7 separate regions of the Homo sapiens genome follow, and all the other regions are linked to region 4. The links are contacts of gene promoters, found by promoter capture Hi-C in blood cells and fetal thymus (Javierre and others, 2016). All regions are on one chromosome and are shown on one strand. The core of a region is centred on a gene start or on the middle of the fragment in contact, and the rest is flanking DNA. Distances in the headings are between cores, read along the strand shown.

Region 1 (3,292 bases), core at 522-3,021, 270 kb before region 4:
ACTATTCACAATAGCAAAGACATGGAATCAACCCAAATGCCCATCAATGATAGACTAGATAAAGAAAATGTGGTACATATACACCATGGAATACTATGCAGCCATAAAAAGGAATGAGATCATGTCCTTTGCAGGGACATGGATGGAGCTGGAAGCCATTATCCTCAGCAAACTAACTCGGAAGCAGAAAACCAAACACTGCATGTTCTCACTTATAAGTGGGAGTTGAACAATGAGAACAGGTGGACACAGTGAGGGGAATAACAACACACACTGGGGCCTCTCCAGGGGTGGCAGGGAGGGAGAGTAACTGGATAAATAGCTAATGCATGCTGGCCTTAATACCTAGAGATGGGTTGATAGATGCAGCAAACCACCATGGCACACATTTACCTATGTAACAAACCTGCACGTCCTGCGCATGTACCCCAGAACTAAAAATAAAATAAAATAAATAAAATAAAATAAAATAAAATAAAAATAAAAATAACACACATATTCATGTGTGTTATCCAAATAGTAGTAGTTATAATATATTGAAATCTGATTTTATTCCAGTCAATGTGCTAAGCTTTTTACATCATTGTTTATTCTAACATGAGAGTCTCTGAGGTGGATGCTATTAGTGTCTTCATTGCATAGATGAGGAAATGGAGGCTTATAACAGGTTATGTAACTTTCCAAAGAACGTGTGAGGTCCAGAAGCCACATTAGGACTCAACCCTATTTGACTTAGTATATGCAGACTTTGGCCAAATCCTTGTCTCCCACCTCCCCCCGGCCTCATTATTTTCAATACTTTAAAATGGAATGTTTATATGTTTTTAGATAAAAAAGCAATAAATCCAATTCAAAATTGTCCATTCAACACTTTTTAATTGAGCACTTACTATGTGCCAGGCAATATGCTAGAAGCTGGGGCTTTATTAGAGAGCTATATGCAGCTCTGTCCTCCAGGAGCTGACAGTCAAGTGGGGTGCAGAGCAAGTCTCAAAGAAGTTTGGGACTCTGTGGAAAAACTATCGAATTACTCTTCTTTGTACATTTCCAGGCAAATTACACCAAATAAAGTGCATTGTCTCCAGCCTGTGCCCCTTCCTTCAGCCCCCTCAGCTGCTTTCTCTATCCTGGGCACAAACTCTGGTCCCACTGCCATTGCATGGAGGCAGTACCTCTGTCCTCCCATAGACCTGCCTCCTGTTGAGGGCCACTAGGTGCCAGCCACAGGTGAGTGCTGTGCAACACTTCCTTACTTAATCCTCACAGCAGCCCCCCTCCCTCTCTTACAAATGAAGAAACTGGACAGGTGAGTCATTTCCTTAAGGTTGCTGCTGAAGGCCGGAGCCAGGATTGACTAAAAATCTGTCTGACTCCAAAACCTGAGAGTGCAAAGTCATTGAGGGAACTGGTATTGCCTTTAGGCCTGGGCAGGAGGGGTCTCTGCTTTAAAGGACCCCATGCTGGCCCTCCTCCAGCCACATCCCTCCCAAAGGGTCGAGAAGCCCATAGAATCAAGGGGCCATGCCCACCGGGAACCCTGCCCCTGCTCCAGCTATGGTCTGAATGCCCCAAACCCCCAGATTCTCTGTCCAAGAGGCTTTCAACTGGTTCTAGAGCCTGCCTGGGACTCTTCCCTGGTCCATCTCCCTGAGTGCACCAGCTTGCACTCCCCTAGGCCCAAGGATGGCCAAGGAGCAGCTGTTTGTGGGGGGTGGGGGAGACAGAGCCTGGAGATGTGGCCAGGGCGTCCACAGACAGGTGTGCAGGGCCTCCTGTGCAAGGCCCCTTTGACGTGGTGTGGACCTAGGGCTGGGGACAGAAGGGGGCAGGTTGTGGGCAGGGAACCAGAGATCAGCTCTCCTCATGACTTCCTGCTCTCAGGCTCAACTCCAAGGGGCCTGAGTACTCTCGGTTTGAACCTGGCCTCCAGGTGGTAATGCAGTGTATTTGCCAGTTTAGGAGGGTGGGCACATTTGATTTAACAGTGTGCTATCTTGGTCCATGTAATGGTCATTTCTGGTCCTCTACCTCGCATCCTTCCTGCCCACCTTTCAGTCCAGCCATTGCTATGGCAACCAGCTGCATGCTGGGTAACCCATGTACTTTGCCTCAGTGACACTGCAGATTCTAGGGCCTTCTGCCTTGGGGGCTTCCTTACTTCCCCCAGGAAACACTTGCTGAGACCACATCACCGTTCTGATACATGTGCAAAAGCTGAAGGGGTAACATCCTTGGGGCAACCCTGGACCAATAGAAGCAGGAGCCTGAGGGAATATACTCTTCCATCCCTCAGGAAGGTGGCTCTGAGACACTTTCTACCTGGCTCCTTGGAGAACCCCTGGTTGCCCAGAGTGGCGATCAGTTTGATAATGGACATCTGGGTTGGCTTGTCCTCTTTCCCTTTTGCCCTCTCCAAGACCCCTACTCCTGTTCCTTGGAATCACTCCCCAAATAAACTGCCTGCCTGCATTCCCTGTTCAAGGCTCTGTTTTGGAGGGGAGTGGGTATCACTGCTAAGAGAATCTTTAACTTTTAGATATTTGGGCTACAGTAAGTGGGTCATTTGTACTCTTGACCCAAGTCCCTCAAGGTTTAGGAGTGAGCCAAGTTTCCCTTTTAATTCTATGTTCTTTATCCAGGAAAACAATGGTTGGAGTAGGACAGGGCAAAATGTACATCACTAAAGGGAAATGTAAGTTTAAGATAACTCAGAAGATCTTTTTTCCCTATTGTCTCATAAGTGTCATAAATGGTTGTCTTTGAAAAAATACATTAAAAAATCAGGAGGAACCAAATAAGGAACCAATCTTGTTGATTGGTTGTTATATCTTCTTGGTATTTTTACCTCTAAAGTTTTTCTCTTTGTGTAGAAATTTCATTATTTGTCCAATGGAGTTTACTACAGTATGAATTTTTGCTAATTCCAACTTTAAAATGTTATCTACTACTGGTAGCTGTACCCAGAAGCTTGGTCAATTTATTAATTTTTTTTTGCATGACAATTTCATAGGGGATTCTTTGTTCTTCCATCAGAAGGTACATAAGATCTTATATTTCTCTGGGGGACATTAGCAGCTGTTGATGTTCATTTGCTAGATCCATCAATTCATTAGAGGTTGCAAGTTGGTGGTATTCTACCATTCCTTCCTCAATTAGCTGAAATATTTTTAAAAGAAAAAATTTTACTCTTAATTATTTGATTGGTCAATTCCTATAGGAAAGGCCGAATAAACAATTATTTCCCTGTATTTATCAGTTTTTGAGTCATGACATCTTAAGAGATTACCCAACC
Region 2 (3,449 bases), core at 347-2,846, 290 kb after region 4:
CTGCTACAGACATGTAATTACAAAAAGAAGGAGTATTTTAGTTGCCTTTTTATTTATAACACTGTACATCAGTCTTTTGGAAAATACTGGTTCACGGAGACATGCAGACCTTACAAATGTTGCCACAATTCACTATGCACTATCCAAAAATGAATCATCCTCGCTAATCTAACCACCAGGCTCATCAGGAAACTCTTGAAGTATTGGGAAGCTGTCATGCTCACAATGGTGAATACAAATTATCCAAAATCCTAAATTTTGCTCAAAAGCTTGAATTTTATTAGAAACAAATACTTCAGTAGGCTCACTTATTTCTGTGAAAATACCTGCCAGATGCCCAAGTCTGAATAACCATGGACTGTCTGTCATTCTTTCAGACATAAACGGTGTTCCATGAGAAAAGCAGCTAGTTCAGCTTCCATCTCAAACAGCTTTTCAAAACAACATGGTAGCTGTAGAAATACTTTTTACATACTTCCCATTGTATCCCACAGAATATTAAAGACATGCTCCAGGGTTGAAGTTTTTATGGCATAATCGAGGACTTTTTTTTTTTTTAAATACAAATGAATGACACTGAAAAACACAATGGCTGCTAGGAAAGTTTGATACCACTGCTTTGATGCATGCTAAGGGGTCAGCAGTTTTACCCTCCATGGCTTTTGCTGACCATCAGTGCAGATGCCAACATAGTGAAAAAGACAAATAACGTCTATCGGTATTATTATGAAAATAGTTTTGACATCGTGGTGGATACTCTGACAGGATCCCTGAGATCCCCAGGGGTCCAAGGGTCACTCTTGGAGAACCACCACTATAAAATTATTAAGGTCCTGAATGGTATACGGGAGGCATCACAACATCTTAAAGTTTTCCCCAAACCATGAGAGTTTAAATTAGCTAGTGCTTGCTGGGAATATATGTATAGTACATCATTGTGTCCATCAGTTAATCAGAGTAGTTGATTTAAAAGGGAAATTACTCACCAACCATCTTGAAGCAGTTGGAATATTCTTCTGTCTTAGTGGACTTTGACAGAAAGGAAAAAAATAGCAGTTAACACTTGAACAACACAGGCTTCGACTGTGCTGACGCACGCATACATTTTTTTCAATCAAGTGCAGATGGAAAATACAGTTTTCAGGATGCAAAACTGCATATATGGAGAGCCCTACTTTTTGTAGGCACATTCCACAGTGGCCAACTGCTACTTGAAAAATCGCAGATTTGGTTATGCCAGGAATCCTGGAACCAATCTCTGGCATGTACAGAGACAACCGTATTTACCTCAGAAGCAAGAATTAAAAGTAATGTGCTTCATAAAGTCTGTTGACTCTGAGTTAATGTTTGTGGAATCATGCTGAAGCAAGTAGCTAGATCTCTATGTGTGAAACACACACCGATCTATGCCAGGGGGAGTAGAAAACAATACAAAATGCACCCTCCTTCCATGATAGCAGAAGCCATGAAGAACTGGTGGATGTTTATAGCCAAGCGTTGACAACCCTTCCCTCAAAAAAGTTTACACTTAATGTTGCTTAAAAACCAGAACGGTATATCCTTATATGTGACCTGTGACTGTTTTTGTAATAAAAAAGCAAATGTTTTTCAACCTTAACTATAACTGGCTGTCAAAAAGTCATATTTTGAATATTAAACTAAGCTATGCTTTAAACTTTAAATCATTGGGTGTTTATGAAACAGTAAGCGTGTGTAACCTTCAAAATAAGATTCAAGGAGAAATGTATAGGAATTGGAAATCTTTTTACATTTAAACATTCGGTGCAGCCTGAAGACCCTTCAGCTGGTCCCCTTCAGAGGGGAGGAGTGGCGTGGCAGTGGCAGGAGGCCTGAGGTGTTGGCCCTGGTCCCCTTCAGAGGGGAGCAGTGGCGGGAAGCATCAGGAGGCCTGGGGTGCTGGCATTGGTTCCACAAGTGTTTGCTTTGTGCTAATGTGTCTAGCTGATCATCTTAGGTTTGTGTCCTTTTCTGTGTGTGGAATATTTCAAATTTTTAGGTTAAAAACAAAAAAGATATGTATCCAAAAACAAATGCCTTGTGCAAACATTGAGGACTTTATTTGGTGACCTGGGGAAGAAAGCCCCTTTTTGGACTTAATGTAGAATATGAATCTCATCGTTGGTTACTCTGTGCTGCTTTCCAGCTAACCCATATCTAAACATGACAGATAAAATTGTTTATGCATTTAATCAGTTTGAGAAACTATACTGGGCTCTAGATGGGGTGTAAGCGAAGAAACATTCTTCCAGAGAATATATTCATGACTCCTCTCTGTTTACCCAATGATTCAAGGCTCATCCACTGCAGAGTTCAACAGGATTTATGGAGGGCCTCTCTCGACATTTAATTTTAAACCTAATTTTAAAACCTGGAGAAAAGAAATCTGTCAAAGTAAAGTTTACTCCAGTTCACAACAGAACTGTTTCTTCACTTATCATAGTCAGGTAGGTTCTGTGATATAGGTGTGGGTTCATTTTTACTACTTACTTAGAAGTCCTCACTTGTTTTAAGATGAATTTGCATGTCTAACTTATGAAATAGTTTGAATTCACTTTGTCCAAAACATGCACACACTCCATGCCTGATGAAACATACCTTTGTTATCAAATGCATAGTTCAAAAACATGAATGGTGTCTTAATGTGTGTCTCTTAAAAATAAAAACTTGCTCTTCTCTGTGTATTTTTGAATTCTTAAAGTATAAATTCTCACCATTAAATTTAATTTCTATGTGGTGCTCTGTAAAATAACAGTAGAAATTGCAAATCAAAAGATTGTGCAGATTTAATGAGAGAAAAATCTGTAATTCTCATTCTTGCATAGAAATAACCTGACTGTGATGGATGCTGTGATGGTCCAAGGACAAGGAACAACTGAGAACTTGAGGGTGGCAGGCAAGCTTCCAGGTCCAGGAAGCTCCTTACGCTTTAAAATCACGGAAGCATTGTTAAAAGATTGTACAGATAGTAAGTCTTCCTAACAGTTTCAAGGACACTAATTTCAGCATTTGCTTTCAACAGTAAATAATTTCAAAAACAACATTATTTCTGTATGTGCACCTGTGTATATTAGTTATGAATGCTTAAGAGCTTAAGGAAATTCCATGTTGTGTTTAGAGTTGTTTGATTTGGATCTTAAAAGATTTAAAGTGTTTGCACTCATTGCATACCTTAGCTGATTTACTCTCAGTATGAAATGTGAAGTATAGTCAACTTTTGCCATCTAAAATGATTTATCAAAGTAGATTACCTCATGATGAAATCTGAGGAACAGCTGATCTCTCTGACATGCAGGGATGGTTTATAACCTGTGACATATAGTAATTCATGAATAATGTATTTATCATTTGGACTGGGAGCACATGATGGCAAGATTTAGTCTTATTCCTGATTTTTTATCCTTTAGGTTTAAAACTAAGAGAACCAAATT
Region 3 (3,191 bases), core at 335-2,834, 310 kb after region 4:
TTGTTTTTTTTTGTTTGTTTGTTTTTTGTTTGTTTTGTTTTTGTTTTTTTGGAGAAAAGGTCTCACTCTGTAACCCAGGATGGAGTGCAGTGGTGCAATCATAACTCACTATAACCTCAAACTCCTGGGCTCAAGAGATCCTCCTGCCTCAGCCTTCTGAGTAGCTAGAACTACAGGTGTGTGCCACCACACCCAGCTAGTTTTATTTTAAAATTTTTTGTAGAGATGAAGTCTCACTATTTTACCCAGGCTGGTCTGGAACACCTGGCCTCAAGTGATCCTCCTGCTTTGGCTTCCCAAACCTTTGGGGATTACAGGCCACTGCTGCGCCCAGCCCTGGGATTCCTAAATTGACCATACATTATTACTGTCACCTGGAGGTCTTGTTAAATAGATTGCTGTGCCTACCCGCAGAGTTCTGGTTCTGTAGGTCTGGAATGGGGCCATAGAATTTGCATTTCTAACAAGGTCCCAGGTGATGCGGACTCTGGGGCAACAGGGGACACTTTGAGAACTACTGACCTAACAAAAGATTTGGAAGAGTCTCTCCTTTCTCTGAAGGCCAGTTTTTCTACTGGAACCCAGCCCTAAGGAAGAGACAAGACCCTTAGGAACACGCTTGCCCTGAGAGTCAGCTTACTGCTTCAGCCCACCCAGGGGCAAGCGGGAGGCAGAGGCCACTCCCTGTGGGGACAGAGACTGCCTGCAGCTAGACGTCGGCCATCCAGTCTTATCAGTCAGGTTAGGGAAGGCATCCAGTATTATCAGTCAGGTTAGGGAAGGCACATTGTCTCCCCTCCCACTAACATTTGAACTTTTGGGTATCCAAACAGCAGAAGAAATCATACATGGCCCTGAAGTAGCTCCTAGCCTGGGTGGTTGGATTGATGTTGATACCATGGACCAGTGGCTCTCAGCCTGGGTGCACAGTAGAATCCCTAGGTTCTATCCAGAACTGTTGAGTCAGAATCTCTCTGAGGGGTGGGGCCTAGACCCTGAGGGGTCGGGCCCAGACTGCAGTATTTTCTTTTTAACATTCCATGTGTTATTCTGAAGTGTGTCTGGTTAAGAACCATAATCACAAACTTGAGAATCCACACGATGTTTTTGGGATAGTTAACTCAGTTTTGGACATTTGGGACTTGGATTGTTGATGTTAATGAAATTGAGCCCTAGGGAGAATGTAAAGGAAAAAGAGAAAAAGCTCCAAGGGCAGATCTCTAGGGAATACCAGCAAAGATAGAGTCAGCAAAGAAGTTGTCAGAAGAAGGGGTTCATGGTGGGGCCTGGCAGGAGCTACATTCTACAGTGTCCAGTGGAACGGGAAGGTCATGTAGAATGAGGAATGATAGGCATCATGGGCTTCAACAGGTTAGAGATTCTTGTCAGCCTTTCCAAAATCACTTTTGTTAAGGTGCTAGGGACAGAAGTCGAAGGACTGCATATTGAGTTAATAAGGTGATGATTTTAAGATAAAAAGGGTAAATTACTCTTCCATGCAATAATTTTTTTTTTTTTTTGAGATGAAGTCTTGCTCTGTCACCCAGGCTGGAGTGCAGTGGCACGATCTCAGCCCACTGCAACCTCCACCTCCTGAGTTCAAGCGATTCTCCTGCCTCAGCCTCCCAAGTAACTGGGATTACAGGCACATGCCACCATGCCCAGCTAATTTTTATATTTTTAGTAGAGATGAGGTTTCATCATATTGGCCAGGCTGGTCTCAAACTCCTGACCTCAAGTGATCCGCCCTCCTCGGCCTCCCAAAGTGCTGGGATTACAGGCCTGAGCCGAATTAATCTTTTGTTACTGAAGTTTTCAACTTAACTATTGTTATGTTAGGTATTTTTTGTCTACTCATAGCTTCACTTTTTGAGTTTAGTTTTTGAAAATTCATTTCCAGCCATTTCATATTTATTATGGAAGTTTCAGGTTATTGTAAATATAGATTATTTATACAGATTTACTGCCCCTCACCCAATGAACCTAAGCATGATAAAATTGTATAATTGCAGGTGAGAAGTTTATTATATGGGGAACTGATCTTGACTGTATGGGAAATTTTGAAGTATTCTCAGCCTGGGCTGTTGAACTCTCAGAATGTAAGAAATCCCAGAGCTCATGGAGCAAAGCAGGACACTCCCCTTCCTGTCTACCATGATGGGGAGAAGCTCTGGCTCTTCGATGTAGGTCAGGGGCCTGTTTTTTGTTGGTTTGGTTTGGTTTGGTTTGGCTTGGTTTGGCTTGGTTTGGTTTTTTGAGGCAGGGTCTTGCTCTGTTGTCCAAGCTGGGGCACAGTGGCACGATTATAATTAAACAAACTAGTCAGTCCTATGCTTGAAACGAGATGCCCCTTCAATTTTTGAGACTTACTATCCAAGTTATGGTTTCAGATCTAACACTTCTTGTAATCAGTGTGCAATAAATGATGAAATGACATTCCTGGAAATCACTAAGCGATTTACTTACTCTTTTTCTAGCTCAGGCTCAGCAGACTTTTTCTGTAAAGGGCCAGGTAGTAAATGTTTGAGGCTTTATGGGCCACAGACTATCTCTGTTGCCTCTTCTTATTTGTGTCTTTTTTTCGACCACTTCAAAAATGTAAAAATCATTCTTAGCTCACAAGCCATAAAAAACAGACTGCAGGCCAGATTTGGCCCATGGGCCATAGTTTGCCAACCCGTTTTAAACACTGAGGTTCGAGTCTCCCATTAATGGTGGCATTCTCTGGGATAACGCCTAAAACATTGGAGTTTTAATTAAGTTGTATTAAGTCACCATTATCGAAAAGATGTATTAGAAATTATGACCCGTACAGACTGGGTTAAAATGTGGCTTGTGTGTCTTCTGCAGCTTGCACCTGCCTGCCCGCCCAGGTGATTTTGCAGGCACAATCTGAGGTGCTAGAACCTGGGGCTTTCTCTGCCTCTGTCTAGTCCTGCTGGATTGTAAGCTCCATGAGGGCAGGAGCTTGCTTGTTGTTTGCTACTATGTTCCCAGCACACAGAACACTGCTGGGAAATATGTTCGGGGCTGGTTCTCATTTGTCTTGATAGCATCCAGATTTTTCCAAGTAGTTGGCTTTCCGTATGTCCATTTTACTCTCTGTCCATATATATACACAACATTACATAGTACTCATGCACCAGTTACCATTCCCAGGGATTATGTAATTCCTCAGTACAGCCCTGTGT
Region 4 (3,385 bases), core at 10-2,509:
GGAAGCAGATGCTCCTGGGCTGCCCTGGGCGACAGTCTTGTGAAGTCAGCATGCCCTCAGAGAAAAGGTCCTATGTGCTCGGAGGTTCAGGGACAGTGCAGGGTTGAGAGTCCATTAATCCAGTTTAGACATTCAATAAGCTTCTAGCTACTTTATTATCAACACCCCAAACTTCCTATACCCCTGTTAGTTTCTGAAAAAGAAGTCTGGGCTAGGTGGATATATATCTTGTGATTTAGGTGAATTTGTGAACGATGATTTTTCCAGGAAGAAAGGAAACTGGGACGAAGCTTCATGATGGATCCTGATGCAACTCTTCCCCAGAAACCCTTAAACCTCCTCCCATTTTTTCTGCCCTTAAGGGACAAGGCTTGGCTGTGATCATTGGCTCAAATAATGTGGACAGAGACAAGGATATTGAAACGGACTGTCCCACCGTTGAGAAAATAGTCAAGAAGGCAATATCTGAGAATAATTGGAGTGCTTTAGGAGGAAGGTCATTGCTGAGAAGAAACAGAGCTTCCAAGAAAATGAAAGGAAAAGCTCTACCAAATGGAAACTAAATCTACTTATTAAGTCTTATTTCCATATAAGGAGGGTGAAAGAAACTGATATGATTGTGAAACCATGTAAGTGTTGCTTTGGCTTTTAGACTATACATATTTATCCTTATGTTCAGGAAATGTGTTTCTTCTGGTTCCCATGTTCCCTCCAAAGCCCAGGTGGACTTCATCACCTTGAACTGCTGGCCTATGGCATAGACAGAAACTAGGAAAACCGCTTTTCCACCAGAGCGGCTGGGCGTGGGCTCGGGTGAGGTGTGATGGAAAGAGCTCTAGAGTAGGAGGGGTCGGTACCTTGACCCTCGGCTTGCCCTGGGTAGCGGACGATTAAGTGGGCCAGGGCAAGTCACCGAGCTTTCCTGGTACTGTTTCCGCATCTGTAAAGTGGGCGTGTAGTCCACCTCAGAAATGGCATTTTTCCAAGACCTCCCTAGGCCGCTTGTTGGAAGGCTCGGCACCTCGGCGGCTCTCGTGCGGCAGGCATCGCTCCCACACTTACTAGGCAATATGTCGGGTGGAAGACGTGGCGGCTCCCGCTCAGCAGCCACCCTCCCATCCTCCCGGGCCCGCCTGACCCGAGAGGGCGGGCGAGGTAAGCATCCCGCTGGTGGATAAGGCAGCGATTCCGGCGGGCGAAGGCTGCGCGCCGGGGGCGAAGGATTCCAGCTGTTCTAGGTCTCTGTGACCCGCGCCTCTGGTTCCGAGCGCGGTCTGTTGACGACGGCGTCTCCGCGGTTGCCTGGACACGGCCAATCACAGCGCGGCTCCTGGAGCCGGCCCCGCCCACAGACCGCGCCCTCACTGGGGCGATGGCTGCGGACCGTGGCCAAGAGGGCGGGGCGCCGAGGCCGTCACCGAGCCAGGTGCGGAAAGCCGGCGTCCGGAACCACCCGGGCCGGGACGACCTCCACCCCAGACCCCCAAACAGAGGCCACGCTAGAGGGACAGGGCGAGTGGCGTTGCCCCTTGCGCCTACTGTCAATGGGAAAATTAACAACAGCGGAGAATATGAATGAAAGAATGAATGAATTAACAAACAAATACACTGATGAGCTGGGGTAGAAATATAGGGTGCGAGCAGACAGGGGAGGAAGGCGCCAGAGGCCGAGGAGAGGCGAGGAGACTGCGGGAAACGCTACAAACGAACTTCTTTTCATACTTTTCAGCAGAGCATTGACCCCTGTGTAGTTTTAATTTTCACCTCACCACTGTCAGGCGATGCTCTCTTCCTTGCACAGTTCAGAGAAAGACGCTTTAAAAGAGGTGGGGCAGTTCGTTGTAGCTCAGCCACTGGACGTGGGCGGAGCTGAGACAGACAGAAGGGACAGGGAGCTGCAATTTTGCAATTGTGGAGGCAGGGGCTGCAGTTGCCAAGAATATTCTTACCTGTTTGACATGAATATTTCTATAGGCATTATTTTCTCCATTCAGCTTTGTTTTTAACCTTTGTTTCAGTGTTACCTTATCAATTAAGCAAAAGGCTCTAAATATTTTCCTATTTTTCCAGTCACCAGGAAATAAAATTGTGCTTATGAAAAGTATCTTTAAAGTCTTAATAAAAGACCCCACAGTAAGTATTGTTTTTAGGGTATTGGGATAGTAAACGATTTTAGATTTTAAAATTATAGAACTGACCAGATCATTTGCAGGTTTTTCAAAGAACTAATAAAACATAGTTAATGTTAGAACTGAGTAATTCTGTCCCCCCAAAAAAAGTCTGCTTCATCCACAGGAATTTATTTCTCCTGCATTCTTTTAATGCCTCTATCATTTAAAAAGTACTGAAAGATTTCATTCCATATCACAAATCATTCCTGGCAGTTATTAGTTTATATATATTTGGCCCTGCAAATGAAACCTGCCATCCACACCACCAAAAAACAAGCAAAAGCTTGATAGTACTGAAGACTGTTCAGAAGGGAGTAAAACACCAGCCTCGCCCATGTTTGCCAATGACCCATTAATCCTTGCTGTCCACACCCTGCCACACTAATATTCTTGGGTCACGGGGGTGAGACAGAGCACACAGCAACACATAGCCAAATGCCCTGCCTCACATGGTCACGCCAGGCACTCTTGTTCCCACCTTCACCCCATGCCTGCTCCTTTCCCTAGGACACTTGCCACATACGTGCAAGTCACCAAGATGATCTGTCCCTATCTTTCGTGTTTATGTGTCTATAAGCATACATTCTGTTGAAAATGTGAAACATTACTTACTTAAATTGTAGAATGATAAGTGAGTAGAAGTTTAAGGTTATTTTGAAGCATTAAATAGTTGGTATGGACTTCAGTTTAGCTAGTTACAGAATGGTTTGCCTCATTTTTATTGAGTTATTTGAAATAAGAAAACCTTTAGCACAGTGGTGATACACTACTATACTGAACTTTTGACAAATTTGTTTTGAGTTTACATTTTTACAGATAATTTGTATCTTTCCTTAAACCTCAGTAAGCGACATTGATCAAATCACTGCCATCTTTGATGTCAAACTTCTGGACTTTACCATTAAGGGCTCAAATTATACTTTCAGACTTTTGCTCATTGCCTCCAACACAAACCCCCATCCCAGAGAGACCCACCTGGTCCCTGCCTCTGAGCACAGATGACTTTACTCAGGCCACCCAGATTACCACAGTTTGGGAATCACCGTCCCTTCAGGGTCAGCTCTAGCTCTTCTCTCTCTCCCCAAAGCCCTCCCATGGATGCTGCGGCCCTAATAACTTCTCTCTACCTGTACAGTCTCAAAGCATTGCTTGCCAGTACCACACTCTTGGCAACCATGTACAAGCCTTTGACAAGCCTTTCGTTGTTATTTGAC
Region 5 (3,062 bases), core at 517-3,016, 260 kb before region 4:
AGTCGTTCAGATTCAAGGGACTCTGGTAGTGGAAGAGCAAATAAATGGAAGTGGTGAATCAACAAAAGGAAGCCAAAGCCACAGAAGTTGGAAGAGAGGAGAATTCTTATTTTATTACTTGGGCTTCTGAAAGGAACCTGAAATTATAATAATTTCAAGAGAAAATATAATAGATGAGACTTTGCCTCATTGAGGACTTCAGTATTCTTATTCCAGGGAATCTCCACGTGCCTCAATTATGAATCTCCACGTGCCTCAGTTGTTATGTGCATTTTTTTTATAGTTCTCATTGTCAGGAAATGCTTTATTTCTTCTAATCTCATTAATTTATGCAACAAGTTAAAGCTGTTTCCTGCTGGCTTGTCCTCAGGGAAGACTGGAAGCAGATGATTATTTTCTGTTGTCCAGAAACATTTCAGAGTTTCAAAAGAATCTTAAATCCTGATTTTGGAGTAAATAGTAGTGATCATGAGATCATTTTAAGGCATCATCCTGAAAAATCCCCTTGGACTTTGTTTCTGAAATGCACATCATTCCTAAGATTTGAAGGGGAAAACAAGACCTCACAGAATTAATCAAGAAATGGAGAAGTGTCCTGAGTCTGATGAAATGAGATAGAGTGTTTAGCACAGAAATGGGCACATAGTTGGCCCCTAGGGAATGATGTATGTGGCAATAGTTATCATTGAAGAACTTTGGGTGTCTGAAAAGTGGAAACAGATGAAGAGACTGGAAATGAATGGAAAGAGACTGAAGGGGATGTATCTGTGAATTTGCCTGCAAAAGTCATCGAGCTGCAAGATCCTAGGCTGCCATGATGGAGGGTCCAGATTTGGCCCAATGCTCACTCAATGGAGTGGCCTCTGGGGACCTTTCCAATTATTGCTCAAGCTTCAACTGAGGCATGGTCGAGTGTGGAAGGGACAGCAAGATTTTGTGAAGATGCAGGATACAGCAACCTCTGAATAAATTAGTGGGATGCTCTAACAGGCCCATGGCACTAAGAGACCAAGGAGCGCGATTCTCAGAAACCCAAAGTCTTTTGGTGTTTGTTAGAATAGGGAGACCACAGGAAGAAGAGAGCTATGGAGAAAGCACCATCTCCTCTTTCTGACAGAGCAGGTGAGAGTGGGAGGAAGGGGGTGGGGGCCAGGTGAATGCTAAGTTGCTTCAGCCTCAGCCAGGACACTAAGGAAGTGGGGAGGGGTCTGTGGGGAAAAGAGTAGCACCCAGGAGCTGAGGAAGTCTGGAGCCAGGGAGCCTGATGAGACCAGTTCTATCCACCTGTGAATTCGGTGCCAGGAAATGAAAGGAAAATACCAGCCAAGCCCAGATGTATTGAGTCTGAGCGTAAGTGTGTACATGTGTGGCTCGGGGGACTCCTCAATGATGTTTAGTTGTGTTTTTGAAATTTAGAAACAATGTGATAGTCTATGTAGTCTCCTGGGATTTGCTTTTGTCAATGAATATTAGGTTAGTAAGATTTGGTGATGTTGCTTGTAGCTATAGTTCATTTAGTTTCACTGTGTAAATAATTTGTTATTTATTTATTCTGTATGCATATTGTACACATTGCTTTAAAAATAGGGGCGGGAAGAACTAAATTTTTGATTCTAATTTTGTAAAATCTTCCCAGTCCAAACAAATTTTAGATGTACTAGGGACCTGATATTTTATAGTCAGGGTTGAAAGGCACACAAATAGTGCCCATAGGTAGGCAACAGGACTGCTGTCTCTGCTGGGGGCCATATGGTGTCCAGTGTGTTAAAGAACACACAATCTCATAAGTAGATAAGCCAGACTAACCGACGATACACAGAAATGCAAACAGATAAACCCAGTTATCAGCAAGGAGGGATGTGTGAACTTGCTTTGGCAGATGGTCTAGATCCTTGGCAAATGATAAGGCAATTTGTAGGAATGGCTTTTGGGAAATAAAATATTTATGAGGAGACAGGCAAGGTTTACATGAGAAGCAAGATGCCTCAGTTTTCCCCGCAGGAATTCTGTCAGTCAGTGCAAAATTGCAGGATGGGGAGGCCCCAAGTTGGGGAAAAGCAGTTATTTTCTGTCTTTAAAGCCCACTTTGCCTGTTTCCTTCTCAGGCAATCAAGATGATGGCATCTATTTCTCTCACCTACCTGGCAGTTGGAAGAATAGAAGGAAAGTTAAATTAAATGAATGAACAAGATTTGAAGAGTTAGAAATTCTAACCAAATACCATTAAGAGCTTGAGGAGGACTGTGGGACCATAGGATCTAATCTATCTTGTCCCCTGGGGACTCCCTGTCTCTTTCAGGTCAGCTTTGCAAACAGTCGCTATAGGGGCTGCCCTTAAGACCCCAGTGCCAGCTTTCCACTCTCCAAATTTCTACTGTCTGACCATCAATGCCTGAAGTCCTACCATTGGAACGTCATCTCTCTATTTTCAAACTTGGATCCCTTTTAAAATGCCAATAACTCCATGAGATAGAGTGTGGATAAAGAATCAAATACAAAGTTTTGGTAGGAAAAATTGAGGAGCACATTTGAGGATCCTGCAGGCCAGTGAGCGTGGCATGGGATGGGCGCCATAGCAGGAGGTGGGTAAGATCAGGGGGAAAGGGCACAGGTGAGACTTTAAATACTGAGGGCAAGCTTGGCCCCGGTTACAACTGAGCCTAGTCCTGGCCCAGCGAAATCACTTGAGCTTTTCTCTAAGCCTAAAGCCTTCATTTTCCACCCACAAAAGAAGGACAATCACCTTTTCTAATTGCTAAGCTGGCAATCAGTGTGCTGGATGCAAGGCTGTTTTTGTGGATTGTGATGTGAACGGCATCAAAGTGCTCGCTAATAGGTGTGATATGCTCTGGGACTCAGTACTGCTCAGTTTGACATCATTATCACGGCCTTGGGTGAACATATGGAGTTTCCTGCATATTTTAATATGGATACGGAGTTATAGAATGTATAGCTAACATGCACTCAGAATATATGGTGACTAAGGAGTATAAATCAAAATCCAAAAAAATCTTGAGAGCCTTCAATGATGCACTAAATATACAGGCCAAGAAAAGACATAA
Region 6 (3,420 bases), core at 41-2,540, 270 kb after region 4:
ATTTCTACATTTGTGGTAAAGTGTTCTCTATGCTGCTGAGAGACCACATTCATGCCTACCAGTGTCAGTATCACGAGGTACATTGTCTTCCCTTACAGAGGAGGAGGCGGCTAATTTTTGTATTTTTAGTAGAGACAGGGTTTCACCATGTTGGCCAGGCTGGTCTCAAACTCCTGACCTCAGGTGATCTGGCTGCCTCAGCCTGGCAAAGTGCTGGGATTACCGACGTGAGGCACTGCACCCAGCCAGGATAAGAGCATTTAGGACCCACCCTTCACAGATGTGCCGGAAAATTCTCCACATGGTCTGCAAGGGTGAAGAGCTGCTCTGCAAGGGTGAAGAGCTACTCTTCTCTAGCTCCTGTATTGACCACCCACTTAATCTTTCCCTTCTTGAGATAAATGCGATGTCATTAGTGTTGGTTCTTCTGAGATCGTAGGCTCTAAGATAATTGTTTCTTAAAGAAATATGTAAAATTAAATAACAACAGCAAAGGGAAAGCATCTTTAAGAGCAAATGCTACATTTCTTAAAAGTAGGTTTTTAATATCATGTGAAAATCCCCCCACCATTCACCTCTCCCACTGCCATGCTGGATCCCCACACAAAATACCTCTGAGATTGCTGTGAAAATCAGTCAGGAAGTGTGTGTTATTTAACTTTTAATATTGTTAGAATGCACCTTATATATGTATTAACTCTGCAGTGTTCATTTATCAAGCATCTTTCTCATCAAAAGTTATTCTTCATGATTTTCAACAGAATTTTCTTGAGCTTTTTGACCACTTTATTTGCTATGTATGATACAATGTCATGAAATGCTTAAATGTGGCCCTTGTAATCAGTCTTACGTCAGAACAAATAGTGAAAAATTGAAAGCATCCAGAGATGGCTAACTAGCAAGCAGAGAAATAAGAGGCTGAATGGGAATTTTTAAAATGGAAAGTCTGTGTCTGCCATAGTCAAACACTAGATGTCATACCATTTCCTTGTTCTTTTTTGTCATGAGGTTGGATGACACACATTTGCGGAACTCACATATGAATTCTTCACATAAATGGAAGTGTTCCTAAAGTACTCTAAGAGGATAAACATAAACAGCTTCTTTATTTGCTTTGAAAAGAACCATCTAATGGGTACCTAGATTGGACCCAACTGAATCAATTTCTGTAATTCCTTATTTATTTATTTATTTTTTAATTTTTGTTTTTTTGGGTCAGAGTCTCGCTTTGTTGCCCAGGCTGGAGTGCAATGGCGCAATCTCGGCTCACTGCAGCCTCCACCTCCCAGGCTCAAGCGATTCTCCTGCCTCAGCCTGCCAACTAGCTGAGATTACAGGCACGTGCCACCACACCTGGCTAGTTTTTGTGTTTTTAGTAGAGACAGGGTTTCACCATGTTGGCCAGGTTTGTCTCGAACTCCTGACCTCAGGTGATCTGGCTGCCTCAGCCTGGCAAAGTGCTGGGATTACCGATGTGAGGCACTGCACCCAGCCAGGATTATTCAAAACTGCTATGAAATCTGAAGTTTTTACTTCATCTAAGATGAGGACAATATAATATGATGACAGGAGGGGATTTATCTCCTCTTATACCATGAGTTTTAGGGTTGGCTGGTTTTTGAGAAGAGCTCTGAATTCTTGACTTTTCTTATACCATGCTACTTTATTGGTGATAGAGCAAGACTTTGGCCATACAAGAAATGTTATTTCTTTCTCAGTTCAAGTGTAAATCAGCAGGGCTAAGTGGGGGGTAATTTTGCCTCCAAGGGGATATCTGGCAATGCAGAGAGGCATTTTGGTAGTCACAGCTGCAGGGATGCTACTGCCGTCTAGCAAGTAGAGGTCCGGGATGCTGCTAAACATCCTACAGTACACACAACAGCCTCCGCAACGAAGAATTAATCTGGCCTAAAATGTTAACAGTGCCAAGGATGAGAAATTCTGCTGTAAGTAAAGCCAAAGCCTGTGGCTACAGCAAAGCAGCTTAGGTACAGTGTTTTACCTCCTGAACCATGCTCACCAGCTAATTCCTTATCTGCTTATCTTATTACAGGAAATATAAAACATTTTCCCCCTTTTGTATGAAAAATGTGATGTTTCATTTAAAATGTTATAAAAAGTGTTCTGTTGGCCAATTTGGAAGCTCAACTTTTTTTTTTTTTAAGATTTTGTCAATTTACATAAATTCACTAATTCTCTTTGGTAGTAAAAGGTAACAGAGATTATTTTTTATGCTTCCTTTCAGCATCGAAGGCAAAAAAGCCATCTCAGTTTTCTGGGAAAATAACAGTTAAAGCAAAGGAAAAGAGTTATTCTAAACTTGAAATACCATATCAAGCAGAAGTTTTAGATGGGTGAGTTTCTTTTTAAAATAAATTCTATTACTTTTTACTAATCAGTAAATTATATTTTCCTGCTAAATGACCTGCAGAAATACTAGCCACGTTCACATAAACTTGATGGAATTATTTTTTGAAAGAACAGCCCCAACTATAAAAGAGAAAACCTCCTATATTTTGTTTATATTTTACTTTTTTAGAAGAAAAGGGTAAGTGGGATGATAGGATTTGGGCTTAAATGAAGACTTAATGATTCAAAAATCTGATTTTTTAAATATTATTTAAATCATTTGAACCATTTCCTTTCTGACATTTGTTTGTAATATGTAAGTGATTGTGGCCTATTATTAAAGTATTTTGACACTCGAAACAGAATTCTTTATATTCCTTTATAAATTCATAAACACTTCTAGAATTACAACTTTTTATAAATGGGAAGTGACATGTTCATTTTCTATTGTACTTTAACCAATAGTAGTTTAATACTCAACTTGGCAAAGATTCATTTTAGCAAAGCTCCTTGTAATTCAGTGATAAGCATGATTTTTTTCAAAGTAAAGCTTTTTTTGTTGATATGTCTTTGATTCTAATTGTATGATTCATATAATTCATTAGAGAATGGTTGTTTGTATTAATTTCAGTATTTTGCAAGCTAAATTTTGTTTTAAATCATATAGTCAATCACTAAAATATTATAGTTCTAAATCTTTAATACAATCCCTAATGCTAAATGTAAATTATTACTTACAACAGAAGAACTTGGATTTTAAATTAACACATGGAAATAAAAATGATTTATTTTGTTCTTGTTGTTTTTTTTAATAGTTATTTGGGATTTGATCATGCTGCAACATTATTTCACATCCGAGACAGCCCTGCTGATCCTGTGGAAAGGCCAATTTACCTTACTAACACTTTCAGTTTTGCGATCCTCATTCACGATGTGTTGCTACCAGAAGAAGCCAAAACAATGTTTAAAGTATGTCCAGGAGCCCTCATACTTTTAATTTTCCTGGTCTACCAACTAGGTGATGCTGACACTTTGTTTTTTTTCTCTTCTGTCATTTCTCAGGTTCACAAC
Region 7 (3,070 bases), core at 160-2,659, 300 kb before region 4:
AAAAAAGAAAAAAATAGTAGCAGCTTGCCCCTGCCTCCCTACCCTGCTGCATGTTCAGAACCACCCACTTATCCCTCCAAAGAGAAGCAACCGCCCCTGCATCCTCCTCGTACAACTCACTTGAGGGGGCCCCACAGTGCCGAAACCCTGGCTGTCCACCTGAAGCTCAATTCCCCACCCATGCTTCAGAGCACTCTGATGGTCCTCTTGGGGAACCTTCTATTTTTAAAAGGAGAAACCGAGGCACAATAACTAAGTGGTGGCCGTGAGGGGTCCAGGCCTCAGGCCTCCCGAGGGAGAGGTGGAGCTCTGGCTCCTGGGCCTGGTGCCCTGGTTTCCCCCTTTCCGCTGCACCTTCCACCCCTGTCGCTTACCTGCAAATAAGCAGATACCAGTTATAGAAGACAGGCAGGGCGATGGCGGTCAGCCAGCGGTAGTACAGGTTGCTGGACGGGTCCACCACGATCGCATCCTTCTTTTTCGTCTTCTTCCTGGAAACCCACACATACACAAACAGCGCACTGTGCTCCAAGACTGTAGCTTTGGAGGGTTTTAGAGAGCCTAGGGCAATTTCAGGCTGAAGCCCAAGATGTGGCTGTCCACAACAGGGTCCTCTTAGTCTCAAGGGAGTCACATGGGGAGTCCCTGTAGGGGAAGGCAGGCCAGGAGGTAGGGTAGACTCCAGAGGTCCTTCTCTCCCAGCTCAGTCCCAGGAGGTCACGGTCGACTATAAGGTAATGGTGATGACATTCCCATGTGCCCACGACAACATCCACACCCTTCAGGATGCTGAGAATGAAAACGCAGCATGGCAATGTCACAGAGGTCTGCTAAAGTCTGGGGAACTTCCAGAAAATTCTGATTCCCAGGGCCCACTCACCTCTTCCAGGGCTGGGCCTGGAAATATGCATTTAAGCATTGCCTGGATAGTTCTGAGGCAGCCCCTCTCTGGACAGAGTTGGGGAGCCCCACAGTATTCCCTCCAGAACCCTCTCCACCTCCCTCACTGTGTTTGTGCGGACGATGTAAAGGCTCATTTCCAAGGGCTTGCATCACACCTCTCCATCAAAAGCCTGGGAATAACCTGTCACGTGGGCCCGCACGGAATGAAATACATAGCTTAGAGTGCTTAACTTTTATTCTTAGAATTTCCCGCAGATTCAAGTTTACAGGCTGTACTGGAGACTGCCTTTTTGTTGGGTCCATGTGTCCCCTCTGCCATCCCATGCGACCCACGCTGGCCCAGGCCTGCAGAGTGCTCCTGTGCTCCATCGGAGACCCCAGTGACTTCCTGCCTTCACCTGGATGCTGCAAGTGCAAGGTCACTCACTGACCGGGCTTTGGGACGTTCCCTACAGCTCTCATCACCACTGAATTTGGGTGAAAGTTTGTGAACATTGTATCTTCCAGTGCCCCAGAGAAGCCCTCAGCCTACGTGTGGCCGGCCCACTTGTGAGGGCAAACGAAATGCTTCGGGTGGGGGGCACATGAGCAGGCTCACAGGGGCAGCCCCCGGCTGCCCACCGGAGGCTGCAGACAAGCAACTCTCTTTACTTATAAGCCCCCCTTGAGTTCCCGGAGCTTGGAGAGGATTCTTTCTGCAAGATGGGGGCTTCACATGGTCTCAGGAGGCATGGTCTGCAGCCTGCTGGGACCGACTTTTCCTCAGCTCCAAGCACCCTCTCCCCTCCAGGGCCGAAGCTAAGGCCCCCTGATAGCGTTGCTCCAAGATACCCAGCCCTGGAGCCCTGCAGGGAGGGGTCAGGCCTGCTGGGACCATGGCACCCCGTCTTTAGAGGCAGCTTCCTTCAGTACTTCCTCCTCGTGTTTTAGGTAGCTTTTCTCTCTTCTTTTTTCTCTTCGTTCTTTTCTGCCTTGCTGCTGGATGATGCCGGGGCACATTTAGCAGACTTCATATATCAAGGACATTACCAAATGGAAGGGGCAGGCTGCTGCGTCCCGGAGAGAGGGCGTGGCGTGTGGCGTCGTGGAGACGTCCTGAAGAGAGGGCGTGGCAAGGGGTGCTTCCAGCGCATTGGGATGAAATGGGGTTATTGATTTGTTATTATTATTCCTGAAGCGTGAGGTAAACCACCCCATTGAGTATACATTGAGAAATTAGTGGCTCAGTCTAATGTTCTACAATTTCTGATCTATTTTCATGAGCTCCTGGGAAGTCACAAACAGCCAGAGACTGGAGACGTTTTGAGGTAGTACGACATAGACCCAAATCCACACATTGAAGTTGGGAAAGTTACTCGGAGTTTTGGAAATCCCACGCCAGGCTCTCCGTTCTGAATGGAAGGGTGTGGCCTGTCCGCTGTTCTTGAAACCTCTCTCTGGATCAAGTGAAAACCTGGGCCTTAATGAGAAAGCCAGTGAGCAGAAGGGAAGCAACATTCGAAGAGGCGGGTCTGTGACGCATGTAGTGGCAAATACGTGTGGTCGCAGGTTCGCAAATGTGGCCGAGTTCAGACACGCCTTCGGACTTTGCTGGGCTGCGAGACGGTTCAGGCAGCGTCCGCAGGATGGTCCTGTGACTGCAGGTTTTTCTTCAACATAAGACTTCACACTGCTGCCTCTTCTTTATTGGGTGTCTTTTAAGAGCTAGGAACTCTTATAAAGTTATCTAATGAATACATGTAAATTTCTTCAAGGCAGGCAGTAATGCCCCATTGAATAGTTGAAGAAACAAAGGTTGCGGAAGGGACAACCCCTCGAGTCCCCTTCAGGCCCCTCTGATTTCTCTCTTCCACACGCTGAAGGAAGGCATGGTTGAGAGATAAATTCTGCTAATTAAACACTCATTGAAAAAGATCCATTCACAATTACCTAACACTTCCTATGGAAATAATCAAGGCTGTGTGCGATACGTGTGGAAAAATAATCACTGCCATTATTCATGACAATCAAAAAGGGAGAGCCACCGAATCACACGACCATGCAGGCTCATCCTCAACGGTGAATTCTACATGGCCACTTAAAACGCTGTTTCAGAAGAGCTAGTGACGTGGGAAAACGGTTCCTAATATTTTGCTAAGTTAAGAAGCAGACTACAAAAGAGTTTACC

What was found. Contacts are between HindIII fragments. The CHiCAGO score rates a contact against its expected background, and 5 or more counts as called.
Region 1: a fragment that was not itself captured here is called in contact with the fragment with the promoter of VWA3B in region 4 in 1 of 17 cell types (M2 macrophages); the score reaches 5.9 in M2 macrophages.
Region 2: a fragment that was not itself captured here is called in contact with the fragment with the promoter of VWA3B in region 4 in 7 of 17 cell types (M2 macrophages, megakaryocytes, naive B cells and 4 more); the score reaches 11.5 in M2 macrophages.
Region 3: a fragment that was not itself captured here is called in contact with the fragment with the promoter of VWA3B in region 4 in 2 of 17 cell types (erythroblasts and megakaryocytes); the score reaches 6.0 in erythroblasts.
Region 5: a fragment that was not itself captured here is called in contact with the fragment with the promoter of VWA3B in region 4 in 1 of 17 cell types (M2 macrophages); the score reaches 6.4 in M2 macrophages.
Region 6: a fragment that was not itself captured here is called in contact with the fragment with the promoter of VWA3B in region 4 in 9 of 17 cell types (total B cells, M2 macrophages, naive B cells and 6 more); the score reaches 14.2 in total B cells.
Region 7: a fragment that was not itself captured here is called in contact with the fragment with the promoter of VWA3B in region 4 in 2 of 17 cell types (M2 macrophages and M0 macrophages); the score reaches 7.7 in M2 macrophages.

What each region holds. Positions count from the first base shown.
Region 1 is chr2:98,358,185-98,361,476 of GRCh38, reverse strand. The region is part of intron 1 of CNGA3 (cyclic nucleotide gated channel subunit alpha 3); the gene reads right to left. Among named protein-coding and RNA genes, the nearest start is that of CNGA3, 13 kb to the right of the region's middle. The HindIII fragment of the contact is 2,396 bases long and covers 574-2,969 here.
Region 2 is chr2:97,796,381-97,799,829 of GRCh38, reverse strand. It overlaps TMEM131 (transmembrane protein 131), which reads left to right. Exons shown (of 41, transcript NM_015348.2): 26 at 2,314-2,465; 27 at 2,844-2,986; 28 at 3,426-3,449. Among named protein-coding and RNA genes, the nearest start is that of ZAP70, 85 kb to the right of the region's middle. The HindIII fragment of the contact is 2,650 bases long and covers 272-2,921 here.
Region 3 is chr2:97,776,880-97,780,070 of GRCh38, reverse strand. All of the region lies in intron 31 of TMEM131 (transmembrane protein 131), which reads left to right. Among named protein-coding and RNA genes, the nearest start is that of ZAP70, 65 kb to the right of the region's middle. The HindIII fragment of the contact is 4,038 bases long and covers 1-3,191 here.
Region 4 is chr2:98,085,041-98,088,425 of GRCh38, reverse strand. VWA3B (von Willebrand factor A domain containing 3B) reads right to left here and starts at 1,259. Exons shown (of 28, transcript NM_144992.5): 1 at 1,063-1,259. RefSeq lists enhancers at 530-1,030, 1,065-1,134, 1,031-1,531. The HindIII fragment of the contact is 2,164 bases long and covers 293-2,456 here.
Region 5 is chr2:98,342,304-98,345,365 of GRCh38, reverse strand. No RefSeq gene overlaps it. Among named protein-coding and RNA genes, the nearest start is that of CNGA3, 2.6 kb to the left of the region's middle. The HindIII fragment of the contact is 1,746 bases long and covers 894-2,639 here.
Region 6 is chr2:97,814,133-97,817,552 of GRCh38, reverse strand. TMEM131 (transmembrane protein 131) reads left to right here. Exons shown (of 41, transcript NM_015348.2): 13 at 2,246-2,354; 14 at 3,165-3,318; 15 at 3,412-3,420. Among named protein-coding and RNA genes, the nearest start is that of ZAP70, 100 kb to the right of the region's middle. The HindIII fragment of the contact is 3,223 bases long and covers 1-2,901 here.
Region 7 is chr2:98,387,079-98,390,148 of GRCh38, reverse strand. CNGA3 (cyclic nucleotide gated channel subunit alpha 3) reads right to left here. Exons shown (of 8, transcript NM_001298.3): 6 at 375-491. Among named protein-coding and RNA genes, the nearest start is that of CNGA3, 42 kb to the right of the region's middle. RefSeq lists a silencer at 1,864-2,051. The HindIII fragment of the contact is 5,884 bases long and covers 1-3,070 here.